Regions from separate parts of the Homo sapiens genome. Here regions 2, 3 and 4 are each linked to region 1. Evidence: promoter capture Hi-C in 16 types of primary human blood cells and fetal thymus (Javierre and others, 2016). All regions are on one chromosome and are shown on one strand. Each heading gives the region's core, a stretch centred on a gene start or on the middle of the fragment in contact. The rest is flanking DNA. Distances are from core to core; before and after follow the strand shown.

The links. The method cuts DNA at HindIII sites, captures the fragments that hold promoters and counts their contacts. A CHiCAGO score of 5 or more calls a contact.
Region 2: a contact is called between a fragment that was not itself captured here and the fragment with the promoter of MECR in region 1, in 6 of 17 cell types (naive CD4 T cells, non-activated CD4 T cells, naive B cells and 3 more). The highest score is 12.1, in naive CD4 T cells.
Region 3: a contact is called between a fragment that was not itself captured here and the fragment with the promoter of MECR in region 1, in 2 of 17 cell types (activated CD4 T cells and non-activated CD4 T cells). The highest score is 7.1, in activated CD4 T cells.
Region 4: a fragment that was not itself captured here is called in contact with the fragment with the promoter of MECR in region 1 in 1 of 17 cell types (activated CD4 T cells); the score reaches 5.3 in activated CD4 T cells.

What each region holds. Positions count from the first base shown.
Region 1 is chr1:29,229,603-29,232,336 of GRCh38, reverse strand. It overlaps MECR (mitochondrial trans-2-enoyl-CoA reductase), which reads left to right and starts at 1,403. Exons shown (of 10, transcript NM_016011.5): 1 at 1,403-1,606. The coding sequence starts at 1,431. RefSeq lists enhancers at 1,392-1,501, 1,026-1,526, 1,527-2,027. The HindIII fragment of the contact is 2,647 bases long and covers 1,014-2,734 here.
Region 2 is chr1:30,787,148-30,789,881 of GRCh38, reverse strand. No RefSeq gene overlaps it. Among named protein-coding and RNA genes, the nearest start is that of LAPTM5, 31 kb to the right of the region's middle. RefSeq lists an enhancer at 1,499-2,011. The HindIII fragment of the contact is 4,549 bases long and covers 1-2,734 here.
Region 3 is chr1:30,392,766-30,395,499 of GRCh38, reverse strand. No RefSeq gene overlaps it. Among named protein-coding and RNA genes, the nearest start is that of MATN1-AS1, 320 kb to the left of the region's middle. The HindIII fragment of the contact is 7,712 bases long and covers 1-2,734 here.
Region 4 is chr1:30,359,245-30,361,978 of GRCh38, reverse strand. No RefSeq gene overlaps it. Among named protein-coding and RNA genes, the nearest start is that of LINC01648, 320 kb to the right of the region's middle. The HindIII fragment of the contact is 6,766 bases long and covers 1-2,734 here.

The DNA of each region.
Region 1 (2,734 bases), core at 154-2,653:
TCCATGTGCCAAGCATTGTACTAAATGCTTCAAGTGGATAATATCTCACTTGACCCTCACAACAATCTTGAAACAGATAACTAGTATTCCTTCCATTTTAAGAGTAAGAAAGTGAAGACACAGAGAGGCCTGGTGACTTGTCCGAAATCAAATGGCTGGAAAATGGCAGAGCTAGGACATAAAGCCAGGTTTGTCCAAATCTAGCTCACAGTACTTTGCTGTGCTCTCTTCCTCAGAGGAAAGGCTTGGAGATGGCAAGCTTCAAGTCAATAAAATCCAGGAAAGGAACTCTTCCTTATCCTTCAAAGCCCTGGCTCAGTATCTTAAAACCTGTTTCCTGGGACACCTGCATCAGAATATTCTTGGGAGCTTGTAAGGATGTAGATTCCTGGAACCCCCATCCGCAAGATTCTAATTCAGTAGGTCTAAGATGGGACCTCGGATTATTTTTATGCACACAGAAGATTTTGAATCACAGGGCTGGCTCTAACAGCACCTCCTCCAAGAGCCCCCACCCCATCCCACCCCATCCCAGAGCACTTCTCTTCAGACTACAGCATTGCACTCTGGCACGAGCCACAGCTCGATCTGGGGTTTTAGTAATGTTCATGTCTTCCCTACACCAAAAATCAGACTAGATCCTTCATAGGGCTACACCTTTTTACAGGCATTTCCAGTGTTCCACTTAATCCCTTTCTACACTGTGAGCATTTTGAGAGAGGACCCTTCTCCTTGTGATTCCTGTCTTACATCTGAACAGAGTTTTTTACAATGCGTTCTCCCACCCACAATAGCATTCCTCTATTATTTCATCCAATCCTCACAACAATCCGGAAGGAGGCATATTATCCCCATTGTACCGATGAGAAAAATTCAGAGTTTCACCTGCCCAAGGTGGCCAAGCTAGGAAGTGGCAGGGCTAGGATTTGAACCTAAGTTTTCTAACTCCAAGCCCCATACTCCTGCCTCCACAGCAGCTTTCGTGTACTCTCCTCAGTGTAGGGAAGTAAGCTTTGCCTCCCTATGCCGTTACATGGTAGTGGTGATTAAATGAGATAATACCTTAAAGAGCCTGGCTCGGTGAGCACTCAATATATTATGTGAAGGGTAAACTGAGGCCAGGGAGAGTAAATATTTCCTCCAAATCAAACACCAAACTGCAGGCTGTAGACACGACTTTGGACTAGCCCCAGACTCTCCTTGTTGAGACAACAGCTTTGGCGGCCTCGCAAGCTCCGCACCCCCGGATCCCTCCGGGGCCCACACGCAGTCTAGCCAGGCGCCACCACTTGGGCAGCGAAGGAAGGAAACGCCCTTCAAAGGGACCAAGGGGGAGTGGTCACCCGGCGGGGCAGGGGCGGGGCGCAGGCGCGCGGTCGCTGGAAGATGACGTAGCCGGGGCGTCAGGCTCTGTGTTGGTTGGAGCGAGCATGTGGGTCTGCAGTACCCTGTGGCGGGTGCGAACCCCCGCCCGGCAGTGGCGGGGGCTGCTCCCAGCTTCTGGCTGTCACGGACCTGCCGCCTCCTCCTACTCCGCATCCGCCGAGCCTGCCCGGGTCCGGGCGCTTGTCTATGGGCACCACGGGGATCCAGCCAAGGTCGTCGAGTAAGAGACGGCGCCGAAGCCGGGGAAGGGGACTGGGGTTTCTGGAAGGCTTTAACACGAGCTGCGGACTGGGAAGAGAGGGACAGGGTCCGAGGAAGGGGGCAGAGAATAGCAAACCGAAGCCGAAGCCCAGGGCGTTTTTGGTAGGTCAGAAAGACCGTACTTGAAGGTAGCTGAAGACCCGAGAGGCAATTATCAGGGTATTAATGGCTGATGTTTATTGATCGAATATTGTGTCAGGCAATCCCTTGTTTAAATGGATGCTCTCATTTAATTGTCACAACAATGTTTTGGGGTAGTTATTGATTTATCCCCATTTTGCAGATGAAAACTGAGGCAGAAGAGGTAAAATCACTCGTCCAAGGTCACACAGCCAGTAAGTGACAGGGTCAGAATTCCAACCTATGTCTGACTGACCTGCGTGAGTTCTTACTATTATTATTATTATTTGGAAGAAGTTTTCAGAATACTTTTACATCCATTTGGATCTTCATGTGTCAGTAAAGAGTAGGTCATAGATCATTGTTTCCAGAGGGCAAGGGACTTGCCCAGAGTGATACCGCTAATAAGTGATTGGAACAGGAGACTGGAATCCATGGCTTCTGATTCCAAACTCATGTTTCTCTCCACTGCACCGTATATGCATCTTGGCTTGGTTAAAAAGAGCTGCTTTGGTGCCATACAGACCCAAGTATCTATATTTGGTCAAATACAGGCTCAACGTCTTAGTAGCTGTTTGGTCTTAGAGAAGTCATTCAACTTCTCGTTACTTTTATGACTTTGTCCTCCTCCTAAAATTCTGTTGGATCTTAATTCATGCTTTTTGCACGTGGTTGATAAAAATAGTATGTCAGTTGCCAACCATTGTAAATCTGCACATAAATAGCCATTCAGAAGGGCTATTGGGGCCACTGAAGTGGAGCTAAAGCAAAAGCACAGGTCTGGGAATCAAAATACTTGGGGTCAAATCCTTGTCCTAGCTTTGCATTTGGCAAGTTACTGAGGTTCTCTGAGCCTCGGTTTCATCATCTTAAAAAATGGAGACAGTACAGACAAAGTTCATAGTGGTAATCACCTAAGATCTATGTAGTGCTCTCCACCAAAAAACACCTGCATACTCTTGTGCAG
Region 2 (2,734 bases), core at 91-2,590, 1.6 Mb before region 1:
CATCCACGCTAGTGTCTAGTTTGTCTTCCTGAGGGAGTCTGGGGACGTGGGATAGGTGCTGGGTTTGGAGTTGGGTGGTGGAGATCTGGTCTGGGTTCTATCCCTAAGCTCCTAGGTGTGGGGACATCAGCTTTTGTTACCCCCATTCTTGGGCCAGCAAATCCAATTTTCCTTTGGGGTCCCACCCTCTTCTCAGTCCTGGGGTGCCATGTGGGGCTGACACTGCCCCCGCCGCCTCACCCCCACTCCAGGAGTAGACACATTATCCCCAGACGTGGCCACTGAGAGTCCTGCAGACCTGTGGCAAGTGTTTGTCAGAGGGGAAGCATGTGTCCCAAGGTAAGCCTGGATCCAACCGCACCTGAAGTTCACTCTTCAACATCCTGGTCATGCTTGCAGAGTCCCTCGTCCTTTCAAAAAAGCCAGTCTGAATCAGGTGCTTGTCACTTGCAAACAAGAGTTGCCTCTGAAGACACAGCAGGACCTTGAATAAGTCCTTTGTCTTTGGTGGGCCTCAGTTGCCCTGTCTGGAAAATGAAGGGTTGGATTCTCTGAGGTTCTTCCAGCTCTGGAGGTTCACAGCCCCCATCTGGGCCATGTGACTTACACATCGAGGGGGGCCACAGGTGGACAGGCTGACTCTAGTGGAGACTCAGTTGCTCTGTGGCCTTGCCAGGAGAAAGCTCGGCGGGCATGCTCTCCCCAGACCTCCAAAATGCTGCCTTGGAAAGGAAGCAGTGGCTTAGCAGGCACCCCCTGGGGGTAGGGGAGGATCCGGGGGCATATTGGGGTTCCATCCTGTGACCAGCAGTGATAGGTGCTGCCCCTTCTCTGCATCTCTCAATGGCTCCCAAGTACCTTCAAGATTAAGTCTTATCCCTTTAGATGGGGAAAGAGCAAGACTTCTCACAGGGCTTAATAAATATTCAATGAATGAATGAATGGAAGAACAAGCACATTCCCTTCATGACCAGGCTCCCTGGCTGACTCCGCAGCCCTAAACTCCCCAGCCCTAGACCCTCCTCCTTCTGCTCTGCACAGCAGCACTCCCTGCCTTCTTGGACACGCTATGTCCTTTTGTGCCTTGGCCTTGTACATGCTGTTCCCTCTGCTTGGAACATCTCCTCCCACCACCTGCCTGGCAGACTCACGTAGCCTTCAACACTCAGCTCAGCGCATTCATCCGCTGACTCAGCCAACATTTCTGGAGCCCCTCCTGTGTGCCAGGCATGATCTATGTGCTGGCATTGAACAAAAAAGGTATAGTCCCCCTTCTCAGGGAGCTGCCTGCTTGTGGGGAGGCCACCAGCTGGGGATGCATGAGCTGAAGGACATTAAGCTGGGGGAAGAGATGGGGAGTATTGTGAGGAGCACTTTTTGGGGTTCTCTGATCCAGTGATATTTTGAGGTGAGGGAGTGGGCCTCGCAGGTCTGGCCCAGGCAGAGGTAACAGCAAACGCGCAGGCCCTGAGCTGGGAGCCAGCTTGGAATGTTTGAGAACCGGCAATGAGATCCCAGCGGTTGGAGTGAGGGGCGAAGGGCAGGGGAAGAGGTTCAAGAGGTCACAGCCGAGGGCTGGGGGGCAGCTGCACACTTGCTGGCCTTTTACCCTGAGTTGGGGGTCACTGGGGAGGGCAGGACGGGAGCGTTTTGAAGCAGGGACAAGGGCAGAAGTTGGGAGGTTGAGGTGGCAGCAACAGGAGCCATGGAAGTGGTCGGATCCTGGGTCTGCAGGCGTGGGGTGTCGGAGAGACAGGGTCGAGGATAAGCAAGGGGGCATCATCACCCACAGAGTTGGGGGTGCCGTGAAAGCAGGTCTGGGGCAGGGGCCGCCAGGGCTGGGTTTGGGCCTGTGGATTTCGAGATGCCGTCACTCAGCTGCGTGAACTCCTGGAAGTGAGCATGGACACAGGAGTCCCGTGCTCTGGGGAAAGGCTGGGGCTGGAGGTGTGGGTCAGGGAGAGAGAAGGTGGTGGAAGCCAGAGACTGCGTGGGTCACGTAAGGAGGGAGTGAGGGTGGGGCACAGGACCAGAGCCTCCCAGGAGGTCAGGGAGGCCAGGAGGCACCGGCAGAGGAGCCAGGAAGCAGGAGGAAAACCAGAGCGAAGCTGCTGAGGACTGGAGAGGAGACCCAGCCTCCCTGTGTTAGGTGCTGCCGCCGCCTACACCCAGAGGCACTTGGCTATTTGGTCCTGCCACAGGCAGGCCATGGGTGATCCTGAGAAGACATATGAGGATGAAAGCCCAGTTGAAGCAGAGAGGGAAGTGGGGGACTGGAGAGTGTGGCAGAGGGGTCAGGAGTCAGGGGGCATCTCTACAGCAAAGCCCTAATGAAAGGGGGGAGTCAGGGATGTGGATGCCTTGGAGGAAAGTTCTACCGGCAGAGTGAACAGCTGGGGCAAAGTCCCCAACCATGAGTGGGGCAGCCTGTGTTTGGAGAACTAGCAGAAGGCTGTTTTGGGGGAGGTGGGCAGCCCAGGGCTTCGTGGGCTGGGAGCAGGCTGGAGTTGAGTCTGCCTGAGGCTAATGGGCAGCTACAGAAGGCTTCGAGTGCTTGATTTATTTATTTTTTTAAAATGCCCTTGGCTGGGCACGGTGGCTCACGCCTGTAATCCCAGCACTTTGGGAGGCCAAGGCGGGTGGATCACTTGAGGTCAGGAGTTTGAGACCAGCCTGGCCAACATGGTGAAACCCCGTCTCTACTAAAAATACAAAAATTAGCTGGGCATGGTGG
Region 3 (2,734 bases), core at 62-2,561, 1.2 Mb before region 1:
TGTCCCTGCTTGGGAGACACTTTGTGTCTCTCAAGTCTGCTTCCTCATGACAAAGTCTGTTTTTACATGGTCAGAGGAATCCTCCTCACATAGGCTTTCACAAAAGCAGTTTTAAATTCCAATGAGGTCTACTTTATCAATTTATTTTCTGCTATGGGTCACACTTTTGGTGTTTAAGAATTCTAGCTGGGTGCTGTGGCTCATGCCTGTAATCCCAGCACTTTGGGAGGCTGAGGCGAGTGGCTCACTTGAGGTCAGGAGTTTGAGACCAGCCTGGCCAACATGGTGAAACCCCGTCTCTACTAAATATACAAAAATTAGCCAGGTGTGGTGGCAGGTGCCTGTAATTCCAGCTACTCTGGAGGCTGAGGCAGGGGAACGACTTGAACCTGGGAGGCAAAGGTTTCTGTGAGCTGAGATCGAACCACTGCACTCCAGCCTGGGAGAGAGAGTGAGACTCCATCTCAGAAACAAAAACAAACAAAAAGGACTCTTTGCCCTAGGTCATGAAGATTTTTCCTACATTTTCTTCTAAAAAGTTTTATGGTTTTGTGCTTTACATTTATCATTTATGTATGTTATTCATTTTTAGTTATATAGAAAGTGTGCTGAGATTCCTCTTTTGCTTATGGATGTGTAATTGCTCTAGCACCATTTGGTGAATAAGATTAACTTCCCCCATAGAATGGCCTTTGTACCTTTGTCAAAAATCAATTGAACATGTTTGTGTGGGTCTATTTCTTCGTTTTCTATGGATGTATGTATCCCTCTTTTAGTACCACGGTGTCTTGATTAATGTCGTTGAATAGTAAGCCTTAATGCCAGCTAGAGTGATTCCTTCCATATTCTTTGTCAAAATTGATTTAACTTTCTAGAACATGTATTTTTCCATGTAAGTTGATGAATAATTCGCCTATGTTTACTAAAAGGTCTGCTGGGATTTTGATACAAATTGCATTAAACCAGTATATCAATTTGGTAAGAACTGACATCTTTACTAAGTTGAATACTCAAAACCATGAACACGGTCTTTTAAAATTTCTCTTGTAAATATTTTATATTTTTCAGTATATAGATTCCATATGTATTTCGTTAAGTGTATAGCTAAGTATATTATTTTCTTTAGTGTGACTGTAAATGGTATTGTGTTTTAAAATTTGATTTCTGCATATTTTGTTAGCTTGGAGAAATACGCTTAATTTTTGTGTGTTAACTCCGCAACCTGAGAACTTACTGAACACATTTACTAGCTCTGGGAGATATTTTCTAGATTCTTTGAGATTTTCTATGTAGATAACTGTGTCATCTGCAAATAGAGATAGTTTTATTTCTTCTTTTACAAACTATATACCTTTTATCTGTTTTTCTTACCTTAATGCAGTGGCTATAAATTCTAGTACAATGTCAAATAAGATAAATGAGAGCAGGCATATCCTTGCATTTTTCCTAATCTTTTGTATTTTTTGTTGCTAATCATACAGCATTTGACCACTAAATAATTTGTCACCTGTGGTTTTGTATAGATGTTATTTATTTTCCTGAAGAAATTGTATAATATTGGTGTTTATTCCTCTTCAAAAATTTGGTAGAAGTCTCCAGTGAAACCACTTAGGCTGAAAAATTTCTTTTTCAGAAATTTTAAACATTATGAATTTAATTTGTTTGATGGCTATAGGGTTATTCAGATTACCCATTTTATCTTGGCTTGCCTTTAGTAGTTTATGGTTTTTGAGAATTTGGTCCAATTCTTCTATTTTATGAGCATAAGGTTGTTCATACAATCTCTTATTATCCTTTTAATAGCTGCATGGTCTATAGTGATATTCCCTATTTCATCCCCAATATTAGTGATTTGTGTCTCCTGTTTTTTTTTCTTGTATCTTCTTATTTGCTGAAGGTTTATCAATCTTATCATTTTTTTTAAAGAGCCAGCTTTTTTTGTTTCATTGATTTTACTTATTGTTTTCCTATTTTCAATTTCATTGATTTTTTGCTCTTTTCGTTATTTCCTTAATTCTGCTTGCATTGGCTTTATTTTACTCTTCTTTTTCTAGTGTCTTGAGGTAAGAACTTAGATTATTGATCTGAGATCTTTCCTTGTTTCTAACATAGGCATTTAATACTATAATTTTTTTTCTTTCAGCACTATTTTGGCTGCATCGTATACATTTTTGATACGATGTATTTTTGTTTCCATTCAGTTTTATGTATTTTTTAAACATTCCCTTTAAGACCTTCTTTTTGACCCATGGATTTTTAAAGAGATGTGTTGTTTAATTTCTACATGTTTAGGGGTCTTCCAGTTGTCTTTCCATTATTGATTTCTACTTTGGTTCTGTTATAATCAGAGAATATCCTGTATAATTTCAATTCATTTATATTTTTTGATGTTTGTCTCATAGCCCAGTATATAATTTATCTTAATGAATGGTCTGTGGTTGCTTGAAAGAGTATGTATTCTGGTGTTGTTGGCAGAGATTGGAAGAGTGGATAAAAAAACCACATTTTTCTCCCATATGTGTCAATTAGATTTTGCTGGTTGATTTTGTTGTTCAGATCTTCTATATCTTTGCTAATTTTCTGTCTAGTAGTTCTTTCAGTTGCTGAGAGATGTATGGTTTGAAGTGTCCAGCTACAATTGTGGATTTGTCTGTTCTGTCAGCTTTATCAATTTTGTTTTATGGATTTTAAAACTCTGTTGTTTGGTGTGCACATATTGAGGGGATTTTATATC
Region 4 (2,734 bases), core at 142-2,641, 1.1 Mb before region 1:
GCAGGTGTCTGGGGCTGGGGATTCTGTGCCTGTTGGAGGGAAGTGCCAGCTTGGCCATGGGGGAGCGACTGGGACTGCAGACCCTTCAGCCTCCCTCAGGCTGAGAGAGGGGCTGCCCAGACCCCCTTCTTCCAGCCAGGCCCTCCCTGAGCCCCACAGCTGGTCTGGCCCAGCCTGGCCCTGCAGCCCCCTCTGTGGGCACTCAGGCTGCATCCAGCCCACGCAAACTGTAAAACTCTATGTAGTTTAAAGGCTTTGGAAACCAGGATATTGGTGGTACACTGGCTGGGGCTCTGGGGGGCTGTCCATGTGACCCCCTCACCTCAGCCCAAGCTGCTTCAGAAGGTGAACTTGAGCACTTCACACTGTGCCTTTCCCCTCCCCTCATGGAGAACATCAGCCTCTTTAATGCAGGGGCGCAGGGCGGTGGCCTCCCCCGCAGTCAGGACCGCAGAAGCCCAAACCAGGAGAGGGTCAGGGACAGTGGGAGACAGAGACAGATGGTGACAGGGACTTGGTGACAGAAGGAGCCAGTGATGGGAGAGAGGCAGAGGGAGGCCTTGGGACAAGGCAGCCCCCCCCACCCAGAACCTGGGCCCTGGGGACTTTCTTGGGGGTAGGGAGTCATTGGGGCTCAGATGACCCCCCTGCTCTGTGGTTAATTTTCTCAGAGAAAAGAAATCACTCTCCATACAATTAATCTAGTTAGACATAATCAAGTTGTGGGGAATCCGTGCAGCAGGGTGAGTGATTAGGAAAAATTACCTCCCTGCAAAGAATTTAAATTTCATTTTTATTCAATAAAGACCAAATAGAAACAATTGGGTTCCCTACTGTTCCTGGCCAGCAGCTGAAAATTTTCTAGAATGGGACATCAGCTCAGAGTCCAGCAAGGACAGGCTGGGGACACAGAAGATCTGCTAGGAGTCACCCACAGGATCTGGGCGTTGCCCGAGGGGAGAGCCACCGCCACGGCCCTCAAGTGTTTCTCACACTCACACTCTGAGACTAAGGCACATGTTCTCACGCACTCTGCATTTGTGTCCTTAACTGTCACACACACCATTTCACATGCATGCACTGACAGTCAGGAGCTCTGCTGAGTCCCGATGCCTGTCCCAGCTCTGCCACCAACTGGTTGTACAAACACTGAGCTCCCTCTTAGAGCCTCGGTTTCCCTGCCTGTGACAAGTGAGACTTAGACTCCTTTTCTGGAGCATCTACCAAAGGTGACAGCTTGGAATTTTTCTCTCTCTCAGCCTCTCTCTCCTTATTTCAAATTGAGACTGAGTCAGAAAAAATAAAGTCTGGGAGGCGGCAGCCCAGGGGAGTTCATAAGGTGATTCTCATTATCAAGGGAGGCCTCCCCTCCATTAGCAAACTGGGGACTCATGCAGCAGCCCTAGCTTAGCCCCAGGGCCTGGGTCCAGGGCCTGGGGGAGCAGAGAGGGCTTTGCTGACCTCACATGCACATGCACACACACCTGGACCCCACCTTTCATGCTGAGCCATGTTGCCACCACCTCCAAGGAATGGGGTTTATCAACCTGTACCAGTCCCAGGGCCAGGCCCATGTCCCCGCAAGGCTAGGACCAGCCTCCACCCTCTGGGTCCTCTCATATTTCTCTGAGGATGGAGCTGATGAGGGATCAGTCCAGGAAGGTGAGAGAAAAATCATTTGGAGCCAGAGCTGAAGATGCATTAATTTATGTTCTGTTGCTTCTCCAGCCAGAGCTGGACAGTTTGGGGAAGTGAGTGGTCAGGGGGCTGGTCAGGGGCTTTGAGCCCCCAGGTGGAGGAACAGGCTGGAGGATGGGCTGAGCAGGTGGGCATGTCACCGAGGGGTGACATAGGATCCTGCCGGCTGCACGTTGTCCCTCCCCTCCCTGCGTGGCTGTGGCTACAGAGCCCACCTGCATGACCAGAGGCTCCAGGGCAAAGGGCCAGTCCTGCCCCAGCAGTGGGAGCTTAAAAGGTTCTGGGGCAGGGAGTGTCGGGGGGCGGTGGGTGTGGATCTGGGGACTGGCCTAGTGTTGAATCCCAGCCATTGGCTCACTGAGTGACCCTGAGCAGCTTCCTCCTCTTCTCTGGGCCTCAGTTTCTTCATCTGTCAAATGGGGCAAGGATCCTGCCTAGGGTGACATGTGGGCTCCCCTGAGCACGGGAGGGGCATCTGCAGGCGCTCAGTGCATGTTTGTTCCTGTACCCTCTGCAGCCCTGCAGCACCTGGCTCCAAGTCAGTGCCCAGCAAATACTCGTGAGCCTGGTGAGAGAATGAAATGAGCTCATGTTTGCGTCTGCACTCACTGCAGCAAACTCTAAAGCTGTGTTGGCAAATTGAACAACCAGCAGTCTCGCTGGGTAACACGCTTGGGGTTTGGCTGTCAGACATCAAGGAGGAATTCCTGGAGGAGGCTTGCCTTGGGCTGGGCAGGAATTGAATAGAGGAGGGGAAAACAGGTGAGGAGGAGAGACAGCCTGTGCAAAGAGGAGAGGGGCCAAGGTGAGGCCACGTCCTCTCTTGTGCTCTCTGCCAATGGCTGATGGGAAAGAGTTTGGGTTTGGAATCAGACAGATCTCAGTTCGACCTGGACAGGTCCCTCTGTATGCGGAGCCTCCGTGCTGTCAGCTATGAAGTGGGGGGAACATCACCCCTTCCCCACAGGGTGGTTGTGAGGCTGGCACAGGCATTTTGTATGTGTGGAGCCCCAGCACAGTGCTGGGCATCCAGAGA